Regions from separate parts of the Homo sapiens genome. Here region 1 is linked to region 2. Evidence: promoter capture Hi-C in 16 types of primary human blood cells and fetal thymus (Javierre and others, 2016). All regions are on one chromosome and are shown on one strand. Each heading gives the region's core, a stretch centred on a gene start or on the middle of the fragment in contact. The rest is flanking DNA. Distances are from core to core; before and after follow the strand shown. Region 1 overlaps POLH (DNA polymerase eta). Region 2 holds the start of SLC35B2 (solute carrier family 35 member B2).

What was found. The method cuts DNA at HindIII sites, captures the fragments that hold promoters and counts their contacts. A CHiCAGO score of 5 or more calls a contact.
Region 1: a contact is called between a fragment that was not itself captured here and the fragment with the promoter of SLC35B2 in region 2, in 1 of 17 cell types (naive B cells). The highest score is 5.0, in naive B cells.

The regions. Positions count from the first base shown.
Region 1 is chr6:43,617,544-43,622,734 of GRCh38, forward strand. It overlaps POLH (DNA polymerase eta), which reads left to right. Exons shown (of 11, transcript NM_006502.3): 11 at 1-2,980. It overlaps GTPBP2 (GTP binding protein 2), which reads right to left. Exons shown (of 12, transcript NM_019096.5): 10 at 5,090-5,191; 11 at 4,460-4,624; 12 at 2,951-4,247. The coding sequence ends at 4,071. Among named protein-coding and RNA genes, the nearest start is that of GTPBP2, 9.1 kb to the right of the region's middle. The HindIII fragment of the contact is 2,773 bases long and covers 2,188-4,960 here.
Region 2 is chr6:44,255,989-44,261,666 of GRCh38, forward strand. It overlaps SLC35B2 (solute carrier family 35 member B2), which reads right to left and starts at 1,540. Exons shown (of 4, transcript NM_178148.4): 1 at 1,412-1,540; 2 at 697-890; 3 at 354-508. The coding sequence starts at 1,422. NFKBIE (NFKB inhibitor epsilon) reads right to left here. Exons shown (of 6, transcript NM_004556.3): 3 at 5,638-5,678; 4 at 4,463-4,551; 5 at 4,055-4,294; 6 at 2,178-3,296. The coding sequence ends at 3,231. RefSeq lists an enhancer at 1,129-1,842 and a silencer at 1,219-1,758. The HindIII fragment of the contact is 10,724 bases long and covers 477-5,678 here.

The DNA.
Region 1 (5,191 bases), core at 2,324-4,823, 640 kb before region 2:
TTGAATCTGGGAGGCAGAGGTTGTAGTGAGCTGAGATTGTGCCACTGCACTCCAGTCTGGGCAACAGAGTGACACTGTTTAAAAAAAAAAAAATTCCCAATGTGGGCCGGGTGCAGTGGCTCATGCCTGTAATCCCAGCACTTTGGGAGGCTGAGGTGGGTGTATCACGAGGTCAAGAGATCAAGGCCATCCTGGCCAACATGGTGAAACCCCGTCTCTACTGAAAATACAACTGGGCGTGGTGGTGCACGCCTGTAGTCCCAGCTACTTGGGAGGCTGAGGCAGAAGAATTGCTTGACCTGGGAGGCGGAGCTTGCAGTGAGCCCAGATCGTGCCACTGCACTGCACCCTGGCGACACAGCAAGACTGTCTCAAAAAAAAAAAAATTCCCAATGTGTATCTTAAAGTTTGAGAAATGCTGATCTAAAAGATACTAATGACCAGGTGTGTAGAGGACATTTTCTTAAGCCCTTAAGTACAAATTTAAGAGGTAAGTGCTTCAGCCATTAGGGTTACTGGCTTGTTCATCTTTCCCACTGAGTGTAAATATTTAGCTTAGGGTTTAAAATTTGTTATGTAGCTTTTTGCACTTGTCCATGTTTATACTACTGTATTATTATTATTTTTTTTTGAGATGGAGTCTCGCTGTGTAGCCAGGCTGGAGTGCAGTGGTGCAATCTTGGCTCACTGCAACCTCCGTCTCTCGGGTTCAAGCAATTCTCCTGCCTCAGCTTCCCGAATAGCTGAGACTACAAGCGTGCACCACCATGCCCAGCTAATTTTTGTATTTTTAGTAGAGACAGGTTTTCACCATGTTGGCCAGGCTGGTCTCTATCTAGACCTCGTGATCCATCCGCCTCGGCCTCCCAAAGTGCTGGGATTATAGGCATGAGCCACCACGCCCAGCCTATAGTACTGTATTCTTATTCTCCACTCTTGTGTGTGAAAAGTCAGCTCTTTTGGCTTTTCTGTTATGGGGAAACTTGAATTACACAGGGAACCCAACTGAAGAAAATGAACTGAAGTAGGTGGCGCTGGGTGAAGTGGGCCCAGAGAATGGTGTACACATCCCTCCCATACATATACCCAAACTTCTATTTTTTTATGTGACGGAGTTTCTCTCATCGCCCCGGCTGGAATGCAATGGCACGATCTCGGCTCACTGCAACCTCCGCCTCCCGGGTTCAAGCGATTCTCCTGCATCAGCCTCCTGAGTAGCTGGGATTATAGGCATGCACCATCACGCCTGGCTAATTTTTGTATTTTTAGTAGAGATGGGGTTTCGCCACGTTGGCCAGGCTGGTCTTGAACTCTTGATCTCAAGTGATCCACCCGCCCTGGCCTCCCAAAGTGCTGGGATTACAGGCCTGAGCCACCAGGCCAGCCCCAACTTCTACTTTTTATTTTATTTATAAATTGGGGGGGGGGTTCTATATTTAGTTTGAAGAGGTGGGGAAGATTTGAAAACCACTAGATTTACCAGGAAATTTTTTTCTTCAAAAATATTTTCTGCTTTTATGATACTTGAATATCTAATAAAAGACAATATTTAGCCAGTCACGGTGGCTGATGCTTGTAATCCTAACACTTTGGGAGGCTGAGGTGGGTGGACTACTGGAGCCCTGGAGTTCAAAACCGGCCTAAGCCACATGGCAAAACAGTCTTTACAAAAAATACAAAGATGGTGGCTTATGCCTGTAGTCGTACCTACTCAGGAGGCTGAGGTTGGGAGGATCACCTGAATCTGGGAGTTTGGGGCTGCAATAAGCCATGATTGTGCCGCTGCACTCCAGCCTGGGTGACAGTCTGAGACCCTGTCTCAAAAAAAAAAAAAAAAAAAAAAAAAAAAAAGACTACATTCACTGTATACGTGGCCTTTTCCCCCTAACTAGCTATGTAGCTTCTTAAAGGCAAAGATTCTTCATAGTGCTTTGCACATGATAGGTGCTGATACTCATTGGATGAATGTATATAGTGAAGAATTTTAGATCTGATTACCACAATTGGGATCATAAACATGTATAAACTCCTTGGGAGTCTGCCTTATATACTTTTTATCCCCCTAAATGTTCCATTAATGTTGCAGAGAGGCTCACTAGTTCCTGGAGATGTCTTATTAAGTACTGAAATGTGATTTTCCAAAATTTTCTTTACAATACAGGCAAAAGATAAGTAAATTGTGGACAAAGCTTTCATCTCTATCAGCAGCTATAGAGAGGAAGTAAACAGCTTAGCCCCTAATACAGGAGGAAGTTGTTCAACTACAGGCTTGTTAGTAGCAAGTTAAACCAGTTACATTTTATAAAACAGCCTGAGTGGTAGGGAAGCTATCACTTTAATACTCTAGAGGCAGAATGCCACATAGGACTTTGGGTCACATATTTCTTTTCCAGGGTCTCCTCAAAATGCAGTTTCTATTTACAGTTGACTTTGGCCCCTATTTACCCATAAAATGTCAAAATCAAGTAGTATGAACATGGAAACAGGAGCAGGGACTAAGGTTTGGTCAAGTGGCCCTCATTGTTCCAAGAGTAATTTAGGCTATGTAAACTTGAAAAATATGGGACCAGATTACCTTTTGTCTCTAAATTCTACTCTTCTTTAAGTAGCTGGCACTGTATCTCTGCCAGGGCACAGAAGTGGGCTCCTTACTATTCTGACCACTAGCAAGTGGCCAACTCTTCAAATACAGGGTAGCTACCTATTTCACGTGAAAGGCCTCAGTATTCTGCTCACTTGAACTACGGAAAATAGGCCACAATACTTGGTTACAATACTGGAACTCTGAACCTATGTGGAGGAGAGAAAAACAATGGTGAACGAGATACCAGCTGGGCTCTTTCCACATTCAGGGCTCAGCAGTGTTGGGGTTTCACTTGTCTCTAATCCTGAAGAGGTATCTAGCCCTGGAAGGAAGCTGAGCCTGTAGCTAACGCATAAGCACAGTGTATTCAATAAAACATTTTTATTCTGTACAATATATATGTGTATTTAAATATATATACATATGTATATATATATATATGCACAGAGAAACCTTAGCCAACAAATCCCTGAGTCCATGGGAACCCAGGACACTAACAAAGGGAAAGGAGAGTCCATGCCTAAAGAGTAGGAAATATGGCAACATCTTTCCCTTTCCTCCTGGTTCCCTGCAACAGAGGGAAGGGAACAGTCACTACAAATTACTAAAACGAGGGTTTAGGTGGGGCAGGAAAGTGGGGTGAGAGTGGTAGGATGGGGAACTCAGATGCCACCAGTCTGGGAAAGTAAAACATTTGATCCAGCATGAAAGCCAACATGACCGCAGAGGAAAAAGACCAGACTGATGGGCATGCAGCTGGCCTTTGGTATATGCCAAGCCTTTGCTTGGTAGCCCCACGCCTGGGCCAGCACAACAAATAGCACCTGTGGGGCCTATAAGCCGGGAGGGGATGGGGGAGATAGGGACTGGGGAAATGGCCCTTGAGTGAAGGAAAGGGAGATAAAGCTGAGGAAGAGGCCTCAGGCCTCAGCACAGGGTGGCAACACTACCATTCACTGTCCCTGTGCCATTTCTTCAGACTCTGGGCCGCCACCACCACCAGATGGCCAAGAGCAGATAACCTTTTGTCCACAGCCAGGTAGAGATGGGCAACTTACATGGCCTTGAGAAGAGGTATAGAAAAAGGAGTGCTTTTGAGGGCTACCCCCTGTTGTGACCATTCCTGAAGTGCAGAGACCACACCAGCAAAACATGCCCAGTCTTAGTAGTGGGGACGAAGAATTGATGAGTGGATCCAGTCAGCTCCGGCAGACAGGCCACAGGGTTGCCAGGTTTGATGAGCCAACCAGGTGAGCACACAGCTTCGGAGCACTGCCCTGAATCCTGTCTTCTCCCTCAGGACTGCCCTTTCCTGGCCACACCAAGTTTGGCACCTCTCCAGAAAGTTGGCAGGGAGCAAGTGGCAGACAGCACCCCTCTCTCCCTAGCCTATTAACACACAGAGCCGCCAATGGCAGGGCAGCATGGCCAGAAGTCACCTTATATATTGTAGGGACAGCAATAGAACTGTCCCTGCCTGAAGGGTTCAGAAGCCCATGTTGGCCTGGGCTTCTCCTGCTGTAATGGCTTGTACATCAGTGACATGGCCGATGCCCTTGGTGACACCCTCCCGGAACAGCAGTTTGGCGCCCACCTTCAGGTACTCTGGGTGTTTCAGGAAGCGGAAACGTACCACTGCCTTCTCGCCTGTCCGCAGTTTGTCCTGCAGCAAATAAGTGGTCACTCCCCTGGCCAGTGCCTTCTGTCCCATTCTCTGCCAGCCGTGGCTCTCCACCCTCCAGAGGCCTATCAGGCCGCTACCCACCCTAAGTGGGGTTTTATTCCCATTGTGGGATCAAGGAGTTCTCTGCCAGTCTGGGGCAGGCCTCCCTCTTTTCTGACCTCTGGAGAAATGGAAGGCCAGGTCCCTCTCACCTTGGCATGGATCTTTTCCACCACTGCCGTCTGACGTACGTTGCCCACGTGTACTGTCACCTGGAATCCTCGTCGGAAGGTGGTGGCATGGAACAGTAAGACTATCTCTGCCTCAAACACCGAGCAGATGGTAGGATTCATCTCCGGGCTCACCATCACCATGCCCTGGGGAGGAACAGACCCCAGGCCCAGGAAGGGCAGCTCTAACATCAGACTCTCCCTCCCCAGCCACCCCACACCCTTTATAGCTCCTGAATTTCCTCTTCCTCTACACAACTCTAAACACAAAGACCTCAAAAGACAATAATCAAAACTCTCAGAGGGAATGAGTCTTTACCCACCTCCTACGTCCTCTAGCCCATCTAACGCTTCACATTTTTAGGGTCCTGAACACTAAAAATAGTGTTCATTAAAAACAGTGTAACATAGTGATTCATATTTAGTTATCTGTACCTCATGAGTACGTTAAGCTGTTTTTATAGTCTACGTAGCTAGACCAGAAGCTTCTTGGGTCAGAGAGTGTGTTTCCTCTGAGTTTCTCTGAAGCACCTTAGATAGGTGCTCATTCAGTAGCCAGTCTCCTAGGCACTTCTCTTAGCGTTCCCTCCCCAACCCATGCACCCACCTCACCTTGCGAAGCAGTGCACGGTCAAAGTCCCCAAGCGCCAGTGTAGCAGCCTGACCAGCTCGCAGCACACGACAGGCAGAGCGGTTGCGCTGGATGCTGCATAC
Region 2 (5,678 bases), core at 290-2,789:
CCCACAATTTTATCAGTGGGTTTACAGTATGTGAGACACCAGTGCAGGAAGGAAGTATAATAACGGCACAGTAGAAATCACAGAGAATAGGGCAAGAGGAGTCCTCTCTTCTGCACTAGACATCTTGAAATAACAGCATGAACTTTCAGTACCAGTGCTGGAGAGGAGAAAAGGAAGAAACAAAAGGGCATTTCCCCCAAACACCTCAAAGATGGAGGTGCAGTGTGCCCCTGGGAGGAGGACACGAAACACACCAGCCAGCAAAGCTCTGGGACTGGTAAAATGGAAACCTTCACAGAATCCCTGCCCACCGGCATCCAACCCAGGAAGAGAGGCTGAGCCCACCTACCCACCTGGAGCCCTGTGGCACAGAAGAGCAGCTTCAGGGCCTGCCACATCGGGGTGGTCTCTGCCGCCTCTGTTCGGGGCGCCAGGGGAACCTCATCAGAGGCCTTGGGCTCATTGCCAAACACACAAGCTTTCACCAGGGGAAAGCAGAGGCCCCTACCTGAAGAAAGCACACAAAGTCAAGCCCCAAATCTTCTCCATAGCACTTCATCTTCCCCAGAGCAGCCAGCCTGCCCTGCTGTCCGGCCTACCGACCTCCCGCCCTCTCCAAGTCATATCCCGTTTGGACTGCTGGCCAAATACCCTCTTTCCCGACCTAGCTCACTTCCCCGCCCTTTCTTCACACACCGGTCTCCAGGTAGTTCTTCCGCCTGAAGTACTGCACCAGGAGGTAGCCAGGTACCATAAAGCTGGCATAGCCAGCAGCATTCACCACAAATCGGAAGAACCATAGCTGGGTCCATGACTCCGGAGGGGCTTCGGGAGTCTCCCCACCTGCCCCTAGGGAGGGGAACGCAGCCAGCACCACCACTGCCCACCATCTGTAAGGAAAGCGGACATAAGGATTAGGGCGCAGCTCCTCATCCCCTCCGCCCTCCAGAGGGGACCACACTGGAGTAGTGCCCGGAGTCTCCTCCCCGCCCCCTCCGCTGCAGCTCCGGCCCGGACAAAGAGCCTCTCTCTCTCTCTCTCTCTCGGGGAGGGGGTGCGCCGGCGCTGGCCAGGCAGAGCTTCCTCCCTCCCCGGGGGCGGATCCGCCCCTCTGGCCACACAGGTCTCCTCTGTTCCCTCCAACGCTAGCCGGCTGCTCAGGTCAGAGGAAGCGCCCCTTCCCCCACACTCCCCTCCACGATCCGGGACGTCAGGGTCCCCAGCCCCTCCGCCCGAAGCTCCCCAAGGAGCACAAAACCAAGCCGCAGCTCCCATCCCCGCTGGCTCCGGGCAGCGATATGCTGGCCGACGGCCGAGCAGCCGGGACCCCACCCGGCCCCCGTGCTGAGGCGCGGCAGTCACGTGGCCCGGGGGCTCGGTCACGTGAGCTCGCTGCTGCCCTAGCCCCCACCTGGCGTCCATGGTCCAGGCCGCGTGGGGTGGAGGGGGAACCGGGGAATGCGAGTCCCCGGGCCGCGCGCCCCCTGCGCTCCCGCCGCCGCCTCCAGGAGCGGCCAGCGAGCCAGCGGCCAGCGGAAGTGCCGCGCTCTTCCCGCCTCCCTCCCCGCGGCCCCCTCCGCCCCTGCCGCGACCACGCAGCGCCCCGGGCCGCCGCCGGACCACAGCGCCCCCGCGCGGCCCGGAGGCAGACGCGGCTTGGGTTCCGGGGACCTGGGCTGCCCCTGGGCGCGGGGAGCCCCAGCCCTGAAGAGGCGCCCGCCCGGCGTGTCCCCTGTGCTTCGTCATCGCCCTTCATAAGCGTCCCAGAGGTCATGGTGACCATTGCCATCTTGTGGACAGGACATTGAGGCTCTGCATCCCAAGCCGCTCCTCTGTGTTAGTTTCCCCGTTTTCTGACAGGATGAAGGTGTCTCCTTGCTTTGTTGGCTGGGTAGTAATTCTGTCCCACTTCCCATGATCTTCGAGGCTCTACATGGCCTCGCCCGCGTTCCTCGCCCACTCACTCGCCCGCTGTGAAGCCCCACTGGCTTGCTCTCAGTTCCTCTAATTCACAGGCTTTCCCCCTAATGCTCTGCCCCCATCCCTTTACTCATCCTTACATCCCAGTTGAGATGATACTCCTCAGGCGAGGGTTCCCGGACCACCCAAAGTATGACCCTCTACCGACTCCATCCTTTTCCTTCCCACTATTCTTTTCCCTTCATAGCACCCACTGCAACTTGGAAAGGCATCTTTATTTGGATGTTTATGCTTTTAACGGCTGTCTCTCTCACTGGATGAGACGCTCCAAGTGGTCAGAGACTGTGCTGGTTTATTGCCCCATGCTCTTCATGCCAGCATAGGGGTGACCTAGCAGGGCCCTCGAAGGTGAGGAACGGGGGGAAAAACGTGGAGTCAGCTCCCTCGTGCCCAGCCTCCCTGGGTTACCCTTATCCCCAGGCTCCTCCAGATGGCAACCCCCAGGGCAGTGGTGAGGGCTCCAGGGCGTGTGTCCTCTCATTCTTCCTCTTGTCCCTCCATCCCTCATCATTTCCACAGCAAGGACAAGGGTCTGTGCTGGACACAGAGAAAGGCCTGGAACTACTGGCCTCTGACCCCACCCAGCAAGGCCCTACCGTGCTCAGGGGACAATTTCCTTCTCTCTGCCTCTACCACAAAGTCACAGGGCAGGCCTGTCTAAAAAGCCCCAATGCACACAGACATGCATGCGCGCAAAACAGCTCTAGAAGGGAAAAACTTTTTTTAACGTCTCTGCCATTTTAGTGTCATGTTACTGAAACTTCCCTTCCCCAGTGGCTCAGTTCAGAGCCTTCTGTGTGAAGTCTTTAAACAACGGTGTTTCAGGGTCCTCAACAGCAATAAGATGGGACACCTCTCAGGGTTCTGCTTGCTCCTATTTCAGTCTCTTCTCACTCAGGAGAGTCCATGCTTCCTACTGGTTGGCAGTTTCAGGCTGACCCAACATGGGTAAAACAAGAGCACCTGCCATTTTCAAGAGAGGCAAACAGGCTTCACCCAGGATACCTGGGGCTTTGGGGGTCTTCCAAGAAGCCCTGTCCACCTGGAAAGCTCTTCCTTCCAGACTGGCTCTCTTCCACTTGCAGTCCCTCCTCCTCGGCTCAGGACTGTACTGGCTGGCCCCAGGCTCTGGCCACAGCAGTCCCTAGGGCACCAGAAGAGCACATAGCCTGGGCCCAAACTGCAGCAGTTATGGCTCCGGCTTCCAGATGGAGAGGTGGAGCCCTGAGGATCCCAGACCCTGCCTGGCTTCAGTCGGTACACAGCAGCAGTTTCCCTGAGATCTTCAGGTCATCAAAGGGCAAAAGGACAAGGGACTGAGAAGGAGAATGGAGAGAAGCAAGATCAGAGGACATGGGAAAAGGTGACTTGGGAAAGGGGACCCAGGGAAACCTGTTGGGCCACTCCCTCCCCACCAAATGACAGTTGAAGACCATCAGGGAACAAATCTTCACACGAATCCTCAAAATAGTGGCCCCTCTGGGCTTGGCAGAGCCCTGAGGACTTAGACAAGCCTTCCTTTTCTAAGATAATGCCAGAATATCCGAGTTAGGAGGGACCCTTAGAGGTGATCCAGCCCATGGACCTGGAGTTGTTTGTTGTTGTTGGGGGATGGGGTGGGGGGGCTGCTGGGTACTCGCAGAACATTTAGGTTTCTTTTTTACACTGAACATTTAAAAATAGGAAAGACTGTACAGAAAATCTGAGTTTCACCTCTCAAGAAAGTCCAAGACCAGGAAAAACTGGGCCTACACTCCTGCTTTGTAAGCCTTTGCTGAAGCTGAGTACAGAGACCCTCAGGGATGGCTCTCTGGGTTCTTATAGGCCTCACCACACCATGGTCTCATATCTGGCCAACTTCACTGATTCACTTTAACTGCAGGGTCCCTGTAAGAGTCCAAATTTGGCTCCTTGGACCAACTAAGGAAACAGGCTCAAGTTCCCACAGTTGGTCAGTGGCAGAGTCCTGGTTATACCCCAGGACTCCTGGCTCCCTGGCCCTTTCAGCTAATGACAGAACCTCTCTCTGCTATGGGTGTGCAAGGCCCTGGAGAGCAAAGCATATGCCACTTACTTCCTCAGTCAGGTCCTGGGGCGTCTCATCCTCCACATTCCGCAGCAGGGAGTCAGCACCCGCCTTGCACAGAGTGGATGAGATGCCCATGAGACCCCGGCCAGCTGCCAGGTGCAGGGGTGTGCACCCGTTCAGCATGCGGGCATCTACCTGGGCACCAGCCTGGAGCAGGAACTGTACCAGGCCCCGCTCTTGGGTTTCCACAGCCAGGTGCAGCGCTGTCTTACCACTGGTGCCCTCCTGGGGAGGAATAAGGATGTCAGCCAAGGCCCTCAGAGGCAGTGTGCTGGGCCTGGGCTCTGGATAAGGAAGTGAATGCCACCACTTCTGACTGCTGGGCAGGGGACTTGGGGATGTGTCAGGTGGGGGCAGGCCCTGGGCCGGGCAGTGCTTTGCTGGCTGTCTCACCTGCACATCAATGTCAGCTCCATTCCGAAGCAGCAATTCCATGAGTGGTTGGTTCTTCTGAAGGGTGGCAATGTGGAGACAAGCCAGACCTGGGATGGGGTGAGAGTGAGGGTGAGGGCTGCTGATCTGCATCCACCAACTCCCTCTCTTCTGGGACCTCCCTACCACTCAGCCCCAAGGGACTCACAGCCCACTCAATGTCTCTAATCACAAGACTGTTAAAATGCAAACCCCAAAACCCCCTCAAAAGTCTAAGGGGAAAGGAACTCAAAGTTTCCACCTTTTCAGAGTCATGTTATTGAAACTTTCATGCTTCAGGGGTCAGGCTGCTGAGTGACACCCCCAAAGAACACCCTCCTCCTATACACAAACTACAACACACACACACACACACACACACACACATACAGACACACACACACACACACACACACACACACAACCTGCCTTCAAGCCCAGTCTGAAAGCCACCTTTTCTGAAAAGCCACCTAAGATCCTCATGCCCCCAGCCCTTTCTCAGGGGCCGCTTCCTTCTGTGCTCCCCTGGCCTTTTTGCTCTCCTTTCTAGTCTGGACACTCCCGACCCTTGCTTAGTAATAGAGATTTCGATTCAAATTTACATTCTTCACCTTCCTCAGGGCGCTATTCAGATGTCACTGGCTCCATGAGGCCTTCCCGGACCACCCTATTTAACAATCATATCAACTCTCCTACTCCCCACATTCCTTCCTCTCACTCTGCTCTGCTTTTTACTACAGCACTTACTTCCTTTTAACATATTACATAGTTCACTTCTTACATTTATTGCTCATCTCAATCTTTCTCTATTTTGCACACAGATGCAAGTGTAGCTCCTAGGATAACGTCTGGCACATAGAAAACCCTCAGTACATTTCTGTTGAATGAATGAATCAGGTCATCTAATCTCTATTAAACTAAGTATCTTAAGGGCAAGATTTAGTTTTCTTCTCAGCAGGCAGTAGGTACTGGTTAAATTCGAAATCAAATCATCCATTCATTCATTTGGCAAAGATGTACTGAATATCTATGTGCTTACAGTGGGAGGGGCACCAATGGACAAGCTGGGACCCTCCCTTCCCCAAGAGTGAGGTCCCTATCTCCTATGCCCTCCTCATCCCACAGGCCCTAAGGGCAGTCTTAAAGACTGTCCACACCTTGCCAGTTTTGCAGCTGGAGGTCCAGAGAGTGAGATGTT